3 separate regions of the Homo sapiens genome follow, and all the other regions are linked to region 1. Evidence: promoter capture Hi-C in 16 types of primary human blood cells and fetal thymus (Javierre and others, 2016). All regions are on one chromosome and are shown on one strand. The core of a region is centred on a gene start or on the middle of the fragment in contact, and the rest is flanking DNA. Distances in the headings are between cores, read along the strand shown. Region 1 holds the start of MESP1 (mesoderm posterior bHLH transcription factor 1). Region 2 has its middle 17 kb from the start of ZNF710. Region 3 has its middle 30 kb from the start of ARPIN-AP3S2.

What was found. Contacts are between HindIII fragments. The CHiCAGO score rates a contact against its expected background, and 5 or more counts as called.
Region 2: a contact is called between a fragment that was not itself captured here and the fragment with the promoter of MESP1 in region 1, in 7 of 17 cell types (endothelial precursors, M2 macrophages, M1 macrophages and 4 more). The highest score is 9.7, in endothelial precursors.
Region 3: a fragment that was not itself captured here is called in contact with the fragment with the promoter of MESP1 in region 1 in 1 of 17 cell types (M2 macrophages); the score reaches 5.2 in M2 macrophages.

Annotation. Positions count from the first base shown.
Region 1 is chr15:89,748,869-89,753,823 of GRCh38, reverse strand. It overlaps MESP1 (mesoderm posterior bHLH transcription factor 1), which reads left to right and starts at 2,575. Exons shown (of 2, transcript NM_018670.4): 1 at 2,575-3,315; 2 at 3,597-3,949. The coding sequence starts at 2,593. The coding sequence ends at 3,680. It also overlaps the pseudogene MRPL15P1. RefSeq lists silencers at 2,525-2,954, 3,015-3,304. The HindIII fragment of the contact is 7,264 bases long and covers 2,016-4,955 here.
Region 2 is chr15:89,981,550-89,986,504 of GRCh38, reverse strand. No RefSeq gene overlaps it. Among named protein-coding and RNA genes, the nearest start is that of ZNF710, 17 kb to the left of the region's middle. RefSeq lists an enhancer at 3,547-4,268. The HindIII fragment of the contact is 1,566 bases long and covers 1,348-2,913 here.
Region 3 is chr15:89,940,500-89,945,454 of GRCh38, reverse strand. No RefSeq gene overlaps it. Among named protein-coding and RNA genes, the nearest start is that of ARPIN-AP3S2, 30 kb to the right of the region's middle. The HindIII fragment of the contact is 9,566 bases long and covers 1-4,955 here.

The DNA.
Region 1 (4,955 bases), core at 1,326-3,825:
CTGAGGGGCCAGGTGAAATTTCATCCAGGCTGCAGTGCAATGGAGCGATCTTGGCTTACCATAACTTCCGCCTCCCGGGTTCAAGCGATTATCCTGCCTCAGCCTCCCGAGTAGCTGGGATTGCCGGCGTCTGCCACCATGCCTGGCTAATTTTTGTATTTTTAGTAGAGACGGGGTTTCGCCATGTTGGCCAGGCTGGTCTCAAACTCCTGATCTCACGATCCACCCTCTTCGGCCTCCCAAAGTGCTGAGATTACAGGTGTTAGCCATTGTGCCTGGCCCTTTTCTAATATTCTTTAACAACTCTGCTTTCTTGGATGGGAATTCATGAGCTCTAGTACTTGAGGAGATTTTCATCTGTAGATGTTAGGATTTTCTTATCTACTATATTCAGCACCCATCCTGGAGCAAACTCAAAGAAAATCTGCCTTGGATCCTTCTGAGTACTGAACATTTGAAGAGTTCTTCTTTCGTGATATCCAGTAAATTAGAACTGTCCTTCCTGGCAAGCTCAAGTTGTGCTTCAGGAAATTTGGCAGGATCTGCCAGGTTCCCACGATTCTTTGCATTGGTGGAATATGGTACCAGTGCTTCAGAAGGAAGCATTCTTTTTGGAATGGGTTGTCTCCAAAAAGAATGGAACAGGTTTGGATAGAATTTCCAGACTTCTTGGATCCTGTAAGGCTGTAGTGACACCACCACCATTTTTTTCAATTGCAGCAATAGCTAGTTCTGAAGCCAACTGTACTTCAATATTAACTTTTTTTTTTTTTTTTTTTTTTTTGGACAGGGGGTCTCACTCTGTCATCAGACTGGAGTGCAGTGGCATGATCTCAGCTCACTGCAACCTCCACCTCCCGGGTTCAAGTGATTCTCCTACCTCAGCCTCCCAAGTAGCTGGGACTACAGGCACGTGCCACCATGCCTGGCTAATTTTTGCATTTTTAATAAGACGGGGTTTCACCACGGTGGCCAGGGTGGTCTCAATCTCCTGACCTCATGATCCACCCCCCTTGGCCTGCCAAAGTGCTGGGATTACAGGTGTGAGCCACCGCGCCCGGCCCAATATTAACTTTCACCTGAAAGGTGTCTGCGGCCTTTTCGACCAGCTGAACACCATAATCCTCTTTAAGTGGCTGAATGGTCACACCTCTTCCATTGACAAGCTGGGTTAAGTCAATAGGTTGAGTAGGATCAACACGACCCAAATCAGTAACATATTACAGTCTATTGATACTTAAAGGTTGATACTGGTGTCTGAAGCTAAGTCCTTCATTAAATCTGTATTTTGGGATTCCGATGTAAAATAGAGTCTGGCCATCCCCAAAGCCCAGCAGAGCCAGTTTCCTCTCTGCCTTTCTCTTTTATGGCCTCTGCCGCATTTTCTACCTCTTCTCCGACCTTTTGGTCGTCTCATGGGTTTCCTGGAGCCAGGATTCCGCTTTAAATTGGTCAGGCTCATGCGCAGCAGGGCCCAGAGCTGCCATAACCTGCGAAAAGAGTTTTATTTCTTCCTTTCTGACCTGTATGTCTTTTGTTTCCTAATTGCATAGCCTAGATCCTCCATCTGGTACAATGTTGAATAGGAGTGGTAAGAGAGACACCCTCGCTTTGTTCCTGCAATCGGGGGGTGGGGGGAAGATTTCAGTCTTTCACTACTCAGTATGAGGCTACCTGTAGGTTCTTTGTAGGAGCCTTTCATCAGGTTGATGAAATTCCTCTCTATTCTTAGTTTGCTGAGAATTTTCATCACGAAGGGTGTTGGATTTTGTCAAATGCCTTTGCTGCGTCATTTCCACTCACATTTCATTGGGAAAACCTGTTATACCTGTCCAATAGCGGCAGAACATCAGGTAAAGGCCAGTGGTGACAGCTGTGGCAACAGGCCAAGCTCCAGACCTTGCCAGGCTAGAGGTGGCCTGGGGTTGGAGCAGGCTTAACCCCCTCCCTCTGCTCAGAAGGTCCAGCATCCTGACCAGACTCGGCAGCTTATTGAATTTGCCGGGGTGCAAGCTTCCTTGCACTGTCCACATGTTCTTACCAGGGAAGGGTCTACCCAGGGCCATCCTGCCTCAAAGGAGAAGTGGTTTACTGTTTTCTCCACCTTTAGAGGGAATGAGGGTCCCTGCTCCTGGTCCTTACTCTACTCCACTGTCCAATTGGCGCATGCCCTGAGGCTCTCATTATACAAATTGGAAGCTAAGGTGCAAAAGAACTAAGAATTTGCATAAGGTCCCCAACAGGTGAAGGCAGGCCCCAAACCTAGGATCTAGATTTCGTTTTTCTGACCCCGCTTCCTTTAACCTGCAGGGCTGGCCCAACGCCCCGGGCTTCACCCAACACTGGGCGCAGGCGGGAAGGCCGAGAGGCTGGGTCGGGCGCCCAAGCGAGGGCCCAGGTGGGGCGAAACAGGCGCAGTCAAGGGGCTGGCACCTTGGCCCCCCGCCGTGGATTCAAAGGGTCAGGCTCCGCCCCCTCCAAGCCCCGAGCCCACTTTGATGTGCTGATGCGGCCTGGAAGGGGCCACTTCACACCTCGGGCTCGGCATAAAGCGGCCGCCGGCCGCCGGCCCCCAGACGCGCCGCCGCTGCCATGGCCCAGCCCCTGTGCCCGCCGCTCTCCGAGTCCTGGATGCTCTCTGCGGCCTGGGGCCCAACTCGGCGGCCGCCGCCCTCCGACAAGGACTGCGGCCGCTCCCTCGTCTCGTCCCCAGACTCATGGGGCAGCACCCCAGCCGACAGCCCCGTGGCGAGCCCCGCGCGGCCAGGCACCCTCCGGGACCCCCGCGCCCCCTCCGTAGGTAGGCGCGGCGCGCGCAGCAGCCGCCTGGGCAGCGGGCAGAGGCAGAGCGCCAGTGAGCGGGAGAAACTGCGCATGCGCACGCTGGCCCGCGCCCTGCACGAGCTGCGCCGCTTTCTACCGCCGTCCGTGGCGCCCGCGGGCCAGAGCCTGACCAAGATCGAGACGCTGCGCCTGGCTATCCGCTATATCGGCCACCTGTCGGCCGTGCTAGGCCTCAGCGAGGAGAGTCTCCAGCGCCGGTGCCGGCAGCGCGGTGACGCGGGGTCCCCTCGGGGCTGCCCGCTGTGCCCCGACGACTGCCCCGCGCAGATGCAGACACGGACGCAGGCTGAGGGGCAGGGGCAGGGGCGCGGGCTGGGCCTGGTATCCGCCGTCCGCGCCGGGGCGTCCTGGGGATCCCCGCCTGCCTGCCCCGGAGCCCGAGCTGCACCCGAGCCGCGCGACCCGCCTGCGCTGTTCGCCGAGGCGGCGTGCCCTGAAGGGCAGGCGATGGAGCCAAGCCCACCGTCCCCGGTTAGTGTCCCCTTCCCCGCGCCCCCTTCGTCCGTGCCCCCGCGCACAGCCCCACCGCCCGCCAAGGTGAGGACCAGGCACCCTGCTGCTCCCCGCCGGCAGCCTGGCCACCTGGCCACCATAGTATGCCCAGGGCTCCAAGAAGCGAAGGCAGGGAAAGGCCACGCAGAGGACTGGGTCTCCCCTCGCTAGGGGCCCCCTGAGAGTGGAGCCCACGAGCGCGGACACCCGCACAAGGCCACCAGTGCTTGAGGGCTGCGCTGTTCCGTCTCTCCCTACAGCTCCTTCCGGGCGACGTGCTGGCTCTGTTGGAGACCTGGATGCCCCTCTCGCCTCTGGAGTGGCTGCCTGAGGAGCCCAAGTGACAAGGGACAACTGACGCCGTCTCTGTGAGCACCGAGGCTTTTTGGCCTCAGCACCTTCGAAGTGGTTCCTTGGCAGACTGCCTTTCCTGGAAGAGGGCACGGGCGATCCCGACGGGGGCATTCCTGCGGGTGAGAGCCGTCCCCACCGCGGCGGCCCTTCTCAGCCCCTCCCTCCATGGAGGGACCCATAGGGCTAGACACTTTGAGGCAAGCAGGAGGCTCTGCCTAATGTGAATTTATTTATTTGTGAATAAACTGTACTGGTGTCAGTTGGCAATTTCTTCTTCCTACCCGTGGACACAGAGCTCCCTCTCTCCCTCCAAAGAAGAGCATGGGAGAGGTGGGAGGGGTTCTTGCAATCTTTAGCCCCCCGACCCCCACAGGCCCAGACCCCTTTGGCCTTACCCCCAGCCCTGGCTCAGCATCTAGTCCAGATGGGTCAGCCTGGAATGGGTGGGGAGGGACGTCCTGTGAGAAGGCAGCGGCAAGTAGAATCTGCTCATCTTTTCTTTGAACCTGGTGGGGAACTGGTTAAAACCAAAATATCTGTGTAGAAATACAACTCCATTATTGAGTATTTATTGTATGTACATCAGGTACCTATTATACTCAAGTAACCATTTTACAGAAGGATGAGGATCAGCGCTCAAGCCCAGGTAGGCCTCCAGAGTCCCAGCGCTCAGCTCTTGTGGGATTTTGCCAGCTCCATACATGTTGGGGCCTGAGGGATAACAGCTCCAAGGGGTTATTTTCTTGCATCCTGTGGTCTTATTCTCCATGCACGGGAGCATCCTGGCCTTGGAACTCCCCCACCCTCCGCCGGCATTTTCCCATCTGCCTTTTCTCTGGTTTCCCCACCTTGTGGCTTAGAGACATAAATAATGGTGTGGCGGTCCTGAGTTTATATAACCATGACCTCCTACAGGCCTAGATGGGGTGAGATGAGGGGCCCATGGGGTTGCATCGGAATCCACACAGGCAGTTGCGTGCCTGTCTGCATTGGCTGGATTCACATCAGGGAGCAAGAAACGGGAGGCTTGAGCCCAGAAAGTGTGTCCTCATCCAGCCAGGGTGTCTGGGCAACAGTCATGATTAGAGGGTGCGGTGGGGAGAAGGGATGTGTAGCCTCTCTGCCAAGCGTCCTTTACCCTCTATGGATAGATACCCAGTTCTCCCCTCCTCTCCTTCAAGTGTCTGAAACACAGGCTTCAGTGTCTGTTTTTATAAGAGCTTTATTAGGATACAATTCACATACCATAAAATTCACTCTTTTAA
Region 2 (4,955 bases), core at 881-3,380, 230 kb before region 1:
CCGGGCTCAAGCGATTCTCCCTCCTCAGCCTCCCAAGTAGCTGGGACTACAGGCATACACCACTATACCCGGTTAATTTTTTTTTTTTTTTTTTTTTGGTAGAGATGGGGTCTCACCATGTTGCCCAGGCTGGTCTCAAACTCCTGGGTCAAGTGATCTCTTACCTCTGCCTCCCAAAGTGCTGGGATTACAGGCATGAGCCACCATGCCCAACCTGCCAATTGATTTTTTATGATGTGTGTTTCACCAGTTGTATAATGTCACAAGTTTCCCACATTATCTCTTTCCCCAAGTTTCCATATCCAATCAGTTTTATGTGTCATTCTTTTTTAAAAAATCTCTTCTATTTAAAACAACATTTAAAAACCTCCAGACAAGGCTGGTGTGGTGCCTCCCACTTGTAATTCCAGCATTTTGGGAGGCTGAGATGGGAGGATTGCTTGAGACCAGGAGTTTGAGACCAGTCTAGGCAACATAGTGAGACCCTATACCTACAAAAAAAAAAATTAGCTGGGTGCAGTGGCACATGCCTGTAGTCCTAGCTGCTCAGGAGGCTGAGGCAGGAGGATTATTTGAGCCCAGGAGTTTGAGGCTGTAGTGAGCTATTGATGGTGCCACTGTACTCCAGCCTGGGTGACAAAGCAAGATCCTGTCCCTAAAAAAAAAAGAAAAAAAATCCCAGACAAAATTACTTTTCCTTGAACAAAAACCACACTGTCATGCCTTCTTTACAATCTTCTTTGCCAAAAACACATCCTATTTTTCTGATATGTTCTGTATAAATAATTGCTTCTCTTAGAACTAGTAGTTTTAATTCCACATATTAACTACAATTTTATCTCTTAGTAACCTTAGTTTCTAGTGAAAAACCTATAAGTTATTTTGAACTATTTTATATCATTATTTATAGATGAAAACCATTTCATAACTTTTTAGGAAGATGTTACTTCATTTTTTTTGTTTATTAACCGATCTAAATGTATTTTAGCTTTTCTATACCATATGAAAATGAGATGCTGCCCAGGCATGGCGGCTCAGGCCTGTAATCCTAGCACTTTGGGAGGCTGAGGCAGATGGATCACTTGAACTCAGGAGTTCAAGACCAGCCTGGGCAACATAGTGAAATCTTATCTCTACAAAAAACAAAAAATTAGCTGGGCGTGGTGGTGCATGCTTGTGGTCTCAGCTACTTGCAAGGCTGAGGTGGGAGGATCGCTTCAGCCAGGGAAGTGAGGTTGCAGTGAGTTGGGATTGTGCCACTGCACTCCAGCCTGGGTGACAGAGCAAGACTCTATCTAAAAAAAAAGAGAAGAAAAGAAAGAAATAAGATGCCCAAGTACATAAGCTTATGTTTAATATTTCAGTATTTTAACTTACTTAGAAATGACTTAGACATTTTATGATTACATATTCATTAATTTAAGATAAGATGACTTATAATATACAAGTACCCTCCCCAGTGTCTTCCTCAGTCATCTTGGGTCCCAAGTACCCATGTGGCACCAAGGATGGCAATGAAGGGCGAGCCCATCTCGATCCTGAATTTATATGCCAGGTGTAGAGCTTAGGATGGAGCTGTGAAGACAATGCCTGGAGGATCTGACCCTTTCCCACATGGGTAGGAAACACAGCTGGGCCAGGGAGGACATATTGGGTTTGTCTCTGCCCTGTCACTGGTGGCTTAGGTGCTATAGACATACATATGTCTTCAGGGCTTACTATGGCCACCTGTGTAGAATCCAGACTCTAAAGGTGCAAAACCAAAGACGGAAGCTCACAGTAAGATGTATGCAATGCTTCAGGGAAGCCTAGCAGCCACTCACACAGCTTTAGCTCACAAATAAATCAAGAAAGTATAAAAAAATTACAGAAGCAACAGCTGTATGACCTTAAAATATCTAGCAAAGACAGTAAAACCCGTCCAACCCATAGACCCAGGCAAAAATGTCTTAACTATATTTAATACCGACAATTCTGAAAAATCCTAATTTCATATTACCAACGATTTTAAAACTAGTTTTATTTATAAAAGATGACTAAAGTCACATGAACTTAAAAAGCATTTGGTAGCCAGGCATGGTGGCATGTACCTGTAGTCCTAGCTACTCAGGAGGCTGAAGCAGGGGATCACTTGAGCCCAGAAGTTCAAAGATGCAGCAAGCTATGATCACATCACTGCATACCAGCCTGCGTGACAGAGTGAGACCCTGTCTCAAAAAAAGAAAGAACAAAAGAAAGAAAGAATGAAGGAAAGAAGGAAGGAAGGAAGGAGAGTGAGAAAGAAAGAAAGAAAGAAAGAAAGAAAGAAAGGAAGGAAGAAAGAGAAAGAAAGAAAGAAAGAAAGAAAGGGAGAGAAGAAAGGCATTTGGATTTACGTATTTAATTTATGAACATTCATTTATTACAAGTCAACTTGGAACCATGTAGACAGTATACAAACAAAGACATGTATGCTGTATACATAAAAAATACAGACAGGCCAGGTGGGTGGCTCATGCTTGTAATCGCAGCACTTTGGGAGGCTGGGGCTGGAGGATCACTTGAGCCCAAAATTTGAGGCTAGCCTGGCCAACATAAGGAGATCCCATCTCTACAAAAATAATTTTTAAAAATATCAGCTGGGTGTGGGTGGTGCTCATCTATTGTCCCAGCTACTTGGGAGGCTAGGGTGGGAGGACTGCCTGAGCCCAGAAAGTCAAGGTACTCCAGCCTGGGTGACACAGTGAGACTTTGTCTCAAAAAACCAACAAACAAAAAATCCAAAACAAACAAACAAAAAAAACCTACACAGACACAAAAATAATGATGTTAATGCTTTTACTTAAAGTTTTAGCCATAAAACTGGTAAAACTCACTAGTTTAAAAGGACAGTTGGATTAAATTGTGCCTTGTTAAATGGAGTAAGTTAAAGCTTATTGAAGCCCTTGTCAAGTTTTTGAGAAAACAGAGTAGCAAACTTGCATCTCAATGCACAGAGAGAATTTAAACATTTTCAGGGAGTTTGGGTGTATTAGAAGAAGATTAAAAATGGATGCCAAAGCCAGGTGTGGTGTCTCACACCTGTAATCCCAGCACTGTGGGAGGCGGAAGTGGGCAGATCACCTGAGGTCAGGAGTTCCAGACCAGCCTGGCCAACATGGTGAAACCCCATCTCTATCAAAAATACAAAAATTAGCCGGGTTTGATGGCAGGCGCCTGTAATCCCAGCTACTCGGGAGGCTGAGGTAGGAGGATCACCAGAATCAGGGAGGCGGAGGTTGCAGTGAGTGGAGATCACACCACTACACTCCAGCTGGGCGACAGAGCGAGACTCCGTCTCAAATAAATAAATAAACCCACAAAGACAACTTACCTTCATGCATCTTTCAGTTTGGAACGGGAATTAGTCAGAAATTCAAAGACAAGTCTGAATTACAATCAATAGGAGGGCTGCAATTTTAAAAGCAATGCTACATTATTTTCTGCCAAGAGAGGTGAAACCACCAGCACCTGACAGCCGATAACTGGATCCTTTTGCCCTGAAGCAGAGTTGGAGAAGGCAGAAGTCCTCAGCAGAGCTCTTTTCCTGAATCTTCTGTGTAGAGACAGAGACCAAAGCCCTGATTCTTAAATGAAAGAGAGGGTTTGAAATTACTGGAGTCAAAGGAACACAATAGAGTGAGGCTGGCACCCAGCACTGAGTCTCAGAGGGAACACTGGGTAGTCAGTGGCGGTCACTCTGAATCCTGTGGATCTGTGCCAGATACGTTAACTTACAGAAAGAAACTGAGGCAAATTAATACAAGTAGAGAATTTATCTGGGGCTAGTTTGGAAACTGCAACTTGGGAGCATAGATTCAAGTTGCCCTGAATATACACTCTGATTAGCAGAAGTTACAGGTGGGTTTTGTTGTTGTTGTTGTTGTGTGTTTGTTTGTTTTAGTACTCAGTGGTTATAGCAACTAGTGGGTTTTTAAATGAAAAACAAAGAGGCAGTTCCTAAATTGTTTACCAAGAATTTGCATGAAAATAATGGCAGCCCTGCGCCGGTGGCCCACACCTGTAATCCCAGCACCTTGGGAGGCCGAGGAGGGTGGATTACAAGAGGCCAGGAGTTCAAGAGCAGTCTTGGCAACATGGTAAAACCCTGTCTCTACTAAAAATACAAAAATTAGCCGGGCATGGTGGCACATATCTGTGGTCCCAGCTACTCGGGAGGCTGAGACAGGAGAACTGCTTGAACCTGGGAGGTGGAAGTTGCAGTGAGCCGAGGATGGCGCTGCTGTACTCCAGCCTGGGCGACAGAGTGAGACTCTGTCTCAAGAAAAAAAAAAAAAAGAAAAAAGAAAAGAAGAACATAGCTATTAATTGGCTATACATTGCTCTTTGTATCACAAATTTCAGGAACATGAAGATAATGGGTGAGGCGGCTAGTCAGGAAATTACAAGGGAGAAAAGAAAGAACAAAATGTCATTGAACAATTGCCGCTGGGCATGGGTGACCCCATCCCATGGGCATGGGATGCAGGACTGAAATCCCATAGTCCTGTCTCTCTAGACCTGATAAATTTTGCATACCTCACATAGCTCGGACTGCTCTGAGCTATTTTTCTTTTTCTCACTGGTAAGCCCCTACCATAGCTCCCCAAACTTCATGGCAGCATTTTGTGCACTAGTAACTATTTAATTGTTTATAACACTGTGTGTCCTGCCCCTCTCATCCTGGCTTGCGGTTCCAAAAGGATAGGGACCATATCTTCCTTCAAACCTCCGAGTCCCAGTGCTCAATCAATACTGTGAAATGAATGAATGAACAGACGTGCAGGCTTCAATCGCCCAGTCAAATAGAGACTGCAAAGTTGTTTTCTAATAATGAAGGAACTGGTAGGGGGCGGGATTTGATTGGACATCCAAGCCAGGAAGAAGATGTTCGAGGAAGCAGGGATTCACTGATACAGGGGCTGTGGGGGCCAAGT
Region 3 (4,955 bases), core at 1,379-3,878, 190 kb before region 1:
ATTCTCCTGCCTCAGCCTCCCAAGTGGCTGGGATTACAGGCATGCGCTGCTACGCCTGGCTAATCTTTTGTATTTTAGTAGAGACGGGGTTTCACCATGTTGCCCAGGCTGGTCTCAAACTCCTGAGCTCAGGGAATCCGCCCGCCTCGGCCTCCCAAAGTGCTGGGATTACAGGCGTGAGCCACTGCACCCGGCATAGGCCTCTTATTCCTTTTGATGATTCTTCTCATATTTACTCCTTTATCTCTAAATATTACACATATATTGCTACTTCTTGATCATTTTCAATTTTAGTTATCATCTGTTGATTTTCAACCATAGAGGATGAAGACTGAACTCTTTCACTATCAGTACACATTCACACACATACGCACACACACATGCACCTTCCCAATTCTCCCAAACTGGTAGGAGAATGAATGAATACATTTTGGTACATTTGCACAATGGAATATTATACAGCTTTGAAAGTGAATGAATTAAAGAACCAGGGAACAGCAAGTATGAATCTGGATGGTATCATAATGAGTGGAAAAAGCATGTCTCAGGTGACCACACAGAGTGATACCCTTTTTATAACATTCTAAACCAAGTGAAAGGAAACAATTCATTGTTCAGGCCCCTATAAATGTGATGAAGCTGTTTTTAAAAACCAAAAGGGCCTGATGCTGTGTCTCACTTAAGGCCATGATTTCAAGATCAGTCTGGGCAATATAGCAAGATTCCTTCCTACCAAAAAAAATTTTTTTAAATTAGCTGTGCGTGGTGGTGCACACCTGTAGTCCCAGCTACTCTGGAGGCTGAGGTGGAAGGATTGCTTAAGCCCAGGAGGTGGAGGCTGCAGTGAGCTATGATCACACCACTGAATTCCAGTGTGTGTGACAGAGTGAGACCCTGACTCATAAAATGAAATACTTAAAAAAAAAAAAAAAAAAAAAAAGAAGAAGAAGAAGAAACACCAAATTTAGGATGGTGGTTATCTTTAGTTGGGGGAGGCTGGGAGATGGGAAAGGCAAGAAGCCCATGGATATTATTGGCTAGTTGGGCTGTGGATTCAAATGAGGGTTCATTATATAAATAAATGCATGCATAAATGCACACATAAGCAAATCAAAGTAAACAAAACGAAAGAGATAAAGCATGAGCTGAACAATGATAATGTGTTCTTAACTACACAGACTTCATAGCAGTGCTGCGCATCATGGTAAAAATTCTGGAAATTTTTATCAAATTAAATTGCTTTGAAAATAAACTTCCCCACCTCCACTTTCTCTGTTTCTTCTTTCTTAACTGCTTATTATTTGACCAGTGGACCTCCTGTATTGATTTTTTTTTTTTTTTTTTTTTTTTTTGGCAAAGTCTTGCTCTGTTGCCCAGGCTGGAGTGCAATGACACGATCTCGGCCCACTGCAGCCTCTGCCTCCCAGGTTCAAATGATTCTCCTGCCTCAGCCTTCCAAGTAGCTGGGACTACAGGTGTGTGCCGTTATGCCTGGCTAATTTTTTTTGTTTTTTTTTTGAGATGGCGTCTCACTCTGCCGCCCAGGCTGGAGTGCAGTGGTGTGATCTCAGTGGTGATCTCAGCCCACTGCAACCTCTACCTCCCAGGTTCAAGTGATTCTCCTGCCTCAGCCTCTTGAGTAACTGGGATTACAGGCATGTGCCACCACACCCAGCTAGTTTTTGTATTTTTAGTAGAGACGGAGTTTCACCATGTTGGCCATGCTGGTCTTGAACTCCTGACCTCAGGTGATTTGCCCGCCTTGGCCTCCTGAAGTGCTGGGATTACAGGTGTGAGCTACCATGCCAGGCTTGATTTTATTTTCTATTTTCTCTTCTATTTTCCATCTCTTTGTCTCTGTCTCTTTGCTCTATTTTCTGGGAGATTTCCTCCACTTCAATTCCAACTTTTCATTTCTACCGTCATGTTTTTAATTTCCAAAAACTCATCTTCAGAAAATTCCTGAATGTTCCTTTTCTATGGTATCCTTTCTTTGCAGTATATCTGCCTCCAACTCCTGCTCTAGGACTCAGTCTTCCTGGGTATGCTGCATCATTTACCAGCCGTCCATCTATTTATTGTCTTACTATTGTCCTCTCCACCATTCTCCACTTCTTTATGGGTATATGTCTCTTAAACAATACTTTACCATAATTTAATTGTTTTTTCAGGAAGTTCTCTACCCTGAAATTTTTATGTAAATATTTACAATTGGCTGGGTGCGGTGGCTCACGCCTGTAATCTCAGCACTTTGGGAGGCTGAGGCAGGCGGATCACTTGAGGTCACAAATTTGAGACCAGCCTGGCCAACACGGTGAAACCCCGTCTCTACTGAATACCCAAAAATTAGCTGGGCGTGGTGGTTTACGCCTGTAGTCCCAGCAATTTGGGAGGCTAAGGCAGGAGAATCGCTTGAACCTGGGAGGCAGAGGTTGCAGTGAGCCAAGATTGCACCATTGCACTCCAGCCTGGGTGACAGAGCAAGATTCGGTCTCAATAAATAAATAAATAAATAAATAAATATTTACAATGTATTTATATATCAACCTCTAGATTTTAATAAGAATCTATATCGTACCTTCAAATAAAACAAGAAATCTTTTACTCTCTTTCTTCCCTCTTTCATTTATTCTCCTCTTCCCACCTCCCATGTTGAAATAATCAGAGATTCCCATTGCAGAGTTTTGTTTTGTTTATTTTTAATCCACACCTTCTTGGACATCAAAAAGTTTTACTGGCTTCTTTACCCACCACTCCTTATATCTCACATCTCCCTCTTGGATTCTGTCTTATCAATTGCTGCATTAAAAATTATCAATATTTGGCCAGGGATGGTGGCTCATGCCTGTCATCCCAGCACTTTGGGAGGCTGAGGCGGGCGGATCACAAGGTCAGGAGATCGAGACCATCCTGGCCAACATGGTGAAGCCCCATCTCTATTAAAAGTACAAAAATTAACTGGGCGTGGTGGCACGTGCCTGTAATCTCAGCTACTCAGGAGGCTGAGGCAGGAGAATCACTTGAACTAGGGAGTTGGAGGTTGCAGTGAGCTGAGATCGCGCCACTGCACTCCAGCCTAGGCGACAGAGTCAGACTCTGTCTCAAACAAAAACAAAACAAAACAAAAAATTATCAATATTTAGTGGCTTAAAACAAAATATGGCTGGGCGCTGTGGCTCCTTCCTGTAATCCCAGCACTTTCGGAGGCCGAGCCCAGTGGGTCGTTTGAGCTCAGGAGTTCAAGACCAGCCTGGGCAGCAAGGCAAAATTCCTGTCTCTACAAAAAATACAAAAATTAGCTGAGCAGGGTGGTGTGCACCTGTAGTCCCAGCTACTCAGGAGGCTGAAGTGGGAGGATCGCTTGAGCCCAGGAGGAGGAGGTTGCAGTGAACTGTGATTGCACCACTCCACTCCAGCCTGGTTGACAGAGTAAGACTCTGTCTCAGGTAAAAAACAACAACAACAACAAAAAAGAAACATGTATTATTTCACAGTTTTCCTGGGCCAGGATGCAAGCATAGCTTAGCTGGGCCCTCTGATTCAGGGTCTTTTGAGGCTGCAATCAATGCTGGGCTCTCCTCCAAAGGGTTGACTGGGGAAAGATTCAGAATTTAGTTTATTCAGGGCTGTTGGCCTCAGGGTCTCAGTTCCTAGCTGGATGTTGGCTGGAGGCTTCCCTTGGGCCTTTGCAATATGGATATCTCCATAGGGTAGCTCACAACATGTCAGCTGGGTCCTCTGAGTAAGCAAAGGAGAAAATTTTCTAGCAAAATAGAAGCCAGAACTTTTGCTGTCTCCTATCGGCTAGAAGCAAGTCACAGGCCCACCTACACTCATGGAGAGGGCATTACACAAGGGAGTGAACACCAACAGGTGGGGATCACTGGGGACCCTCTTAGTGTCTGTCTGCCACAAATTCCTAATTTTTCTTGTTGAAACACATCCTCTAATAATTCTTTCATATGTGGTTCTTGGCTGGTAAAATGTTTTAGATCTTGGCCGGGCGCGGTGGCTCATGCCTGTAATCCCAGCACTTTGGGAGGCCGAGGCGGGTGGATCACCTGAGGTTGGGAGTTCGAGACCAGCCTGACCAACATGGAGAAACCCCGTCTCTACTAAAAATACAAAATTAGCCGGGTGTGGTGGTGTGCGCCTGAAGTCCCAGCTACTCGCGAGGCTGAGGCAGGAGAATCACTTGAACCCGGGAGGCGGAGTTTGCGGTGAGCCAAGATCACGCCACTGCACTCTAGCCTGGGCAACGAGAGCGAGACTCTGTCTCAAAAAAAAAAGAAAAAAAAGTTTTAGATCTCAAAGGTCTGAAATGGACGTGTTTTGTTCTCCACTTGGTGGATAGTATATGTGGGGATAGATTTCTGGGCTCATAATGTTTTTCCCCCTTGTAAGGCCGAGGTGGGCAGATCACCCGAGGTCAGGAGTTTAAGACCAGCCTGGCCAATGTGGTGAAATTCCGTCTCTACTAAAAATACAAAAATTAGCCGGGCATGGTGTCAGATGCCTGTAATTCCAGCTACTCGGGAGGCTGAGGCAGAAGAATTGCTTGAACCCGGGAGGTGTAGGTTGCAGTGAGCCGTGATTGCACCATTGCACTCCAGCCTGGGCAACAAGAGTGAAACTCCATCTCAAAAAAGATAATAAGAAAAATAAAAATAAACGTTTTTTCCCCCTCAGACTTTGTCATTATCTTCTTGCATCCAGTGTTACCAAAAGAAGAGCTGATGCCAATCCAATTTTTTGTCCCTTTTTAGTTGATCTGTTTTTCCTCTCTTAAGGAAGGATTTCTTTAAAAAAGTATTTTTAGAGATGGGTGTTTCACTATGTTGCCCAGGCTGGTCTTGAACTCCTGGCCTCAAGTGGTCTTCCCGCCTCAGCCTCCCAAATAGCTTGGATTACAGGCGCATGCCGCCACAACCCACTCCAAGACTTATCTTTTATCT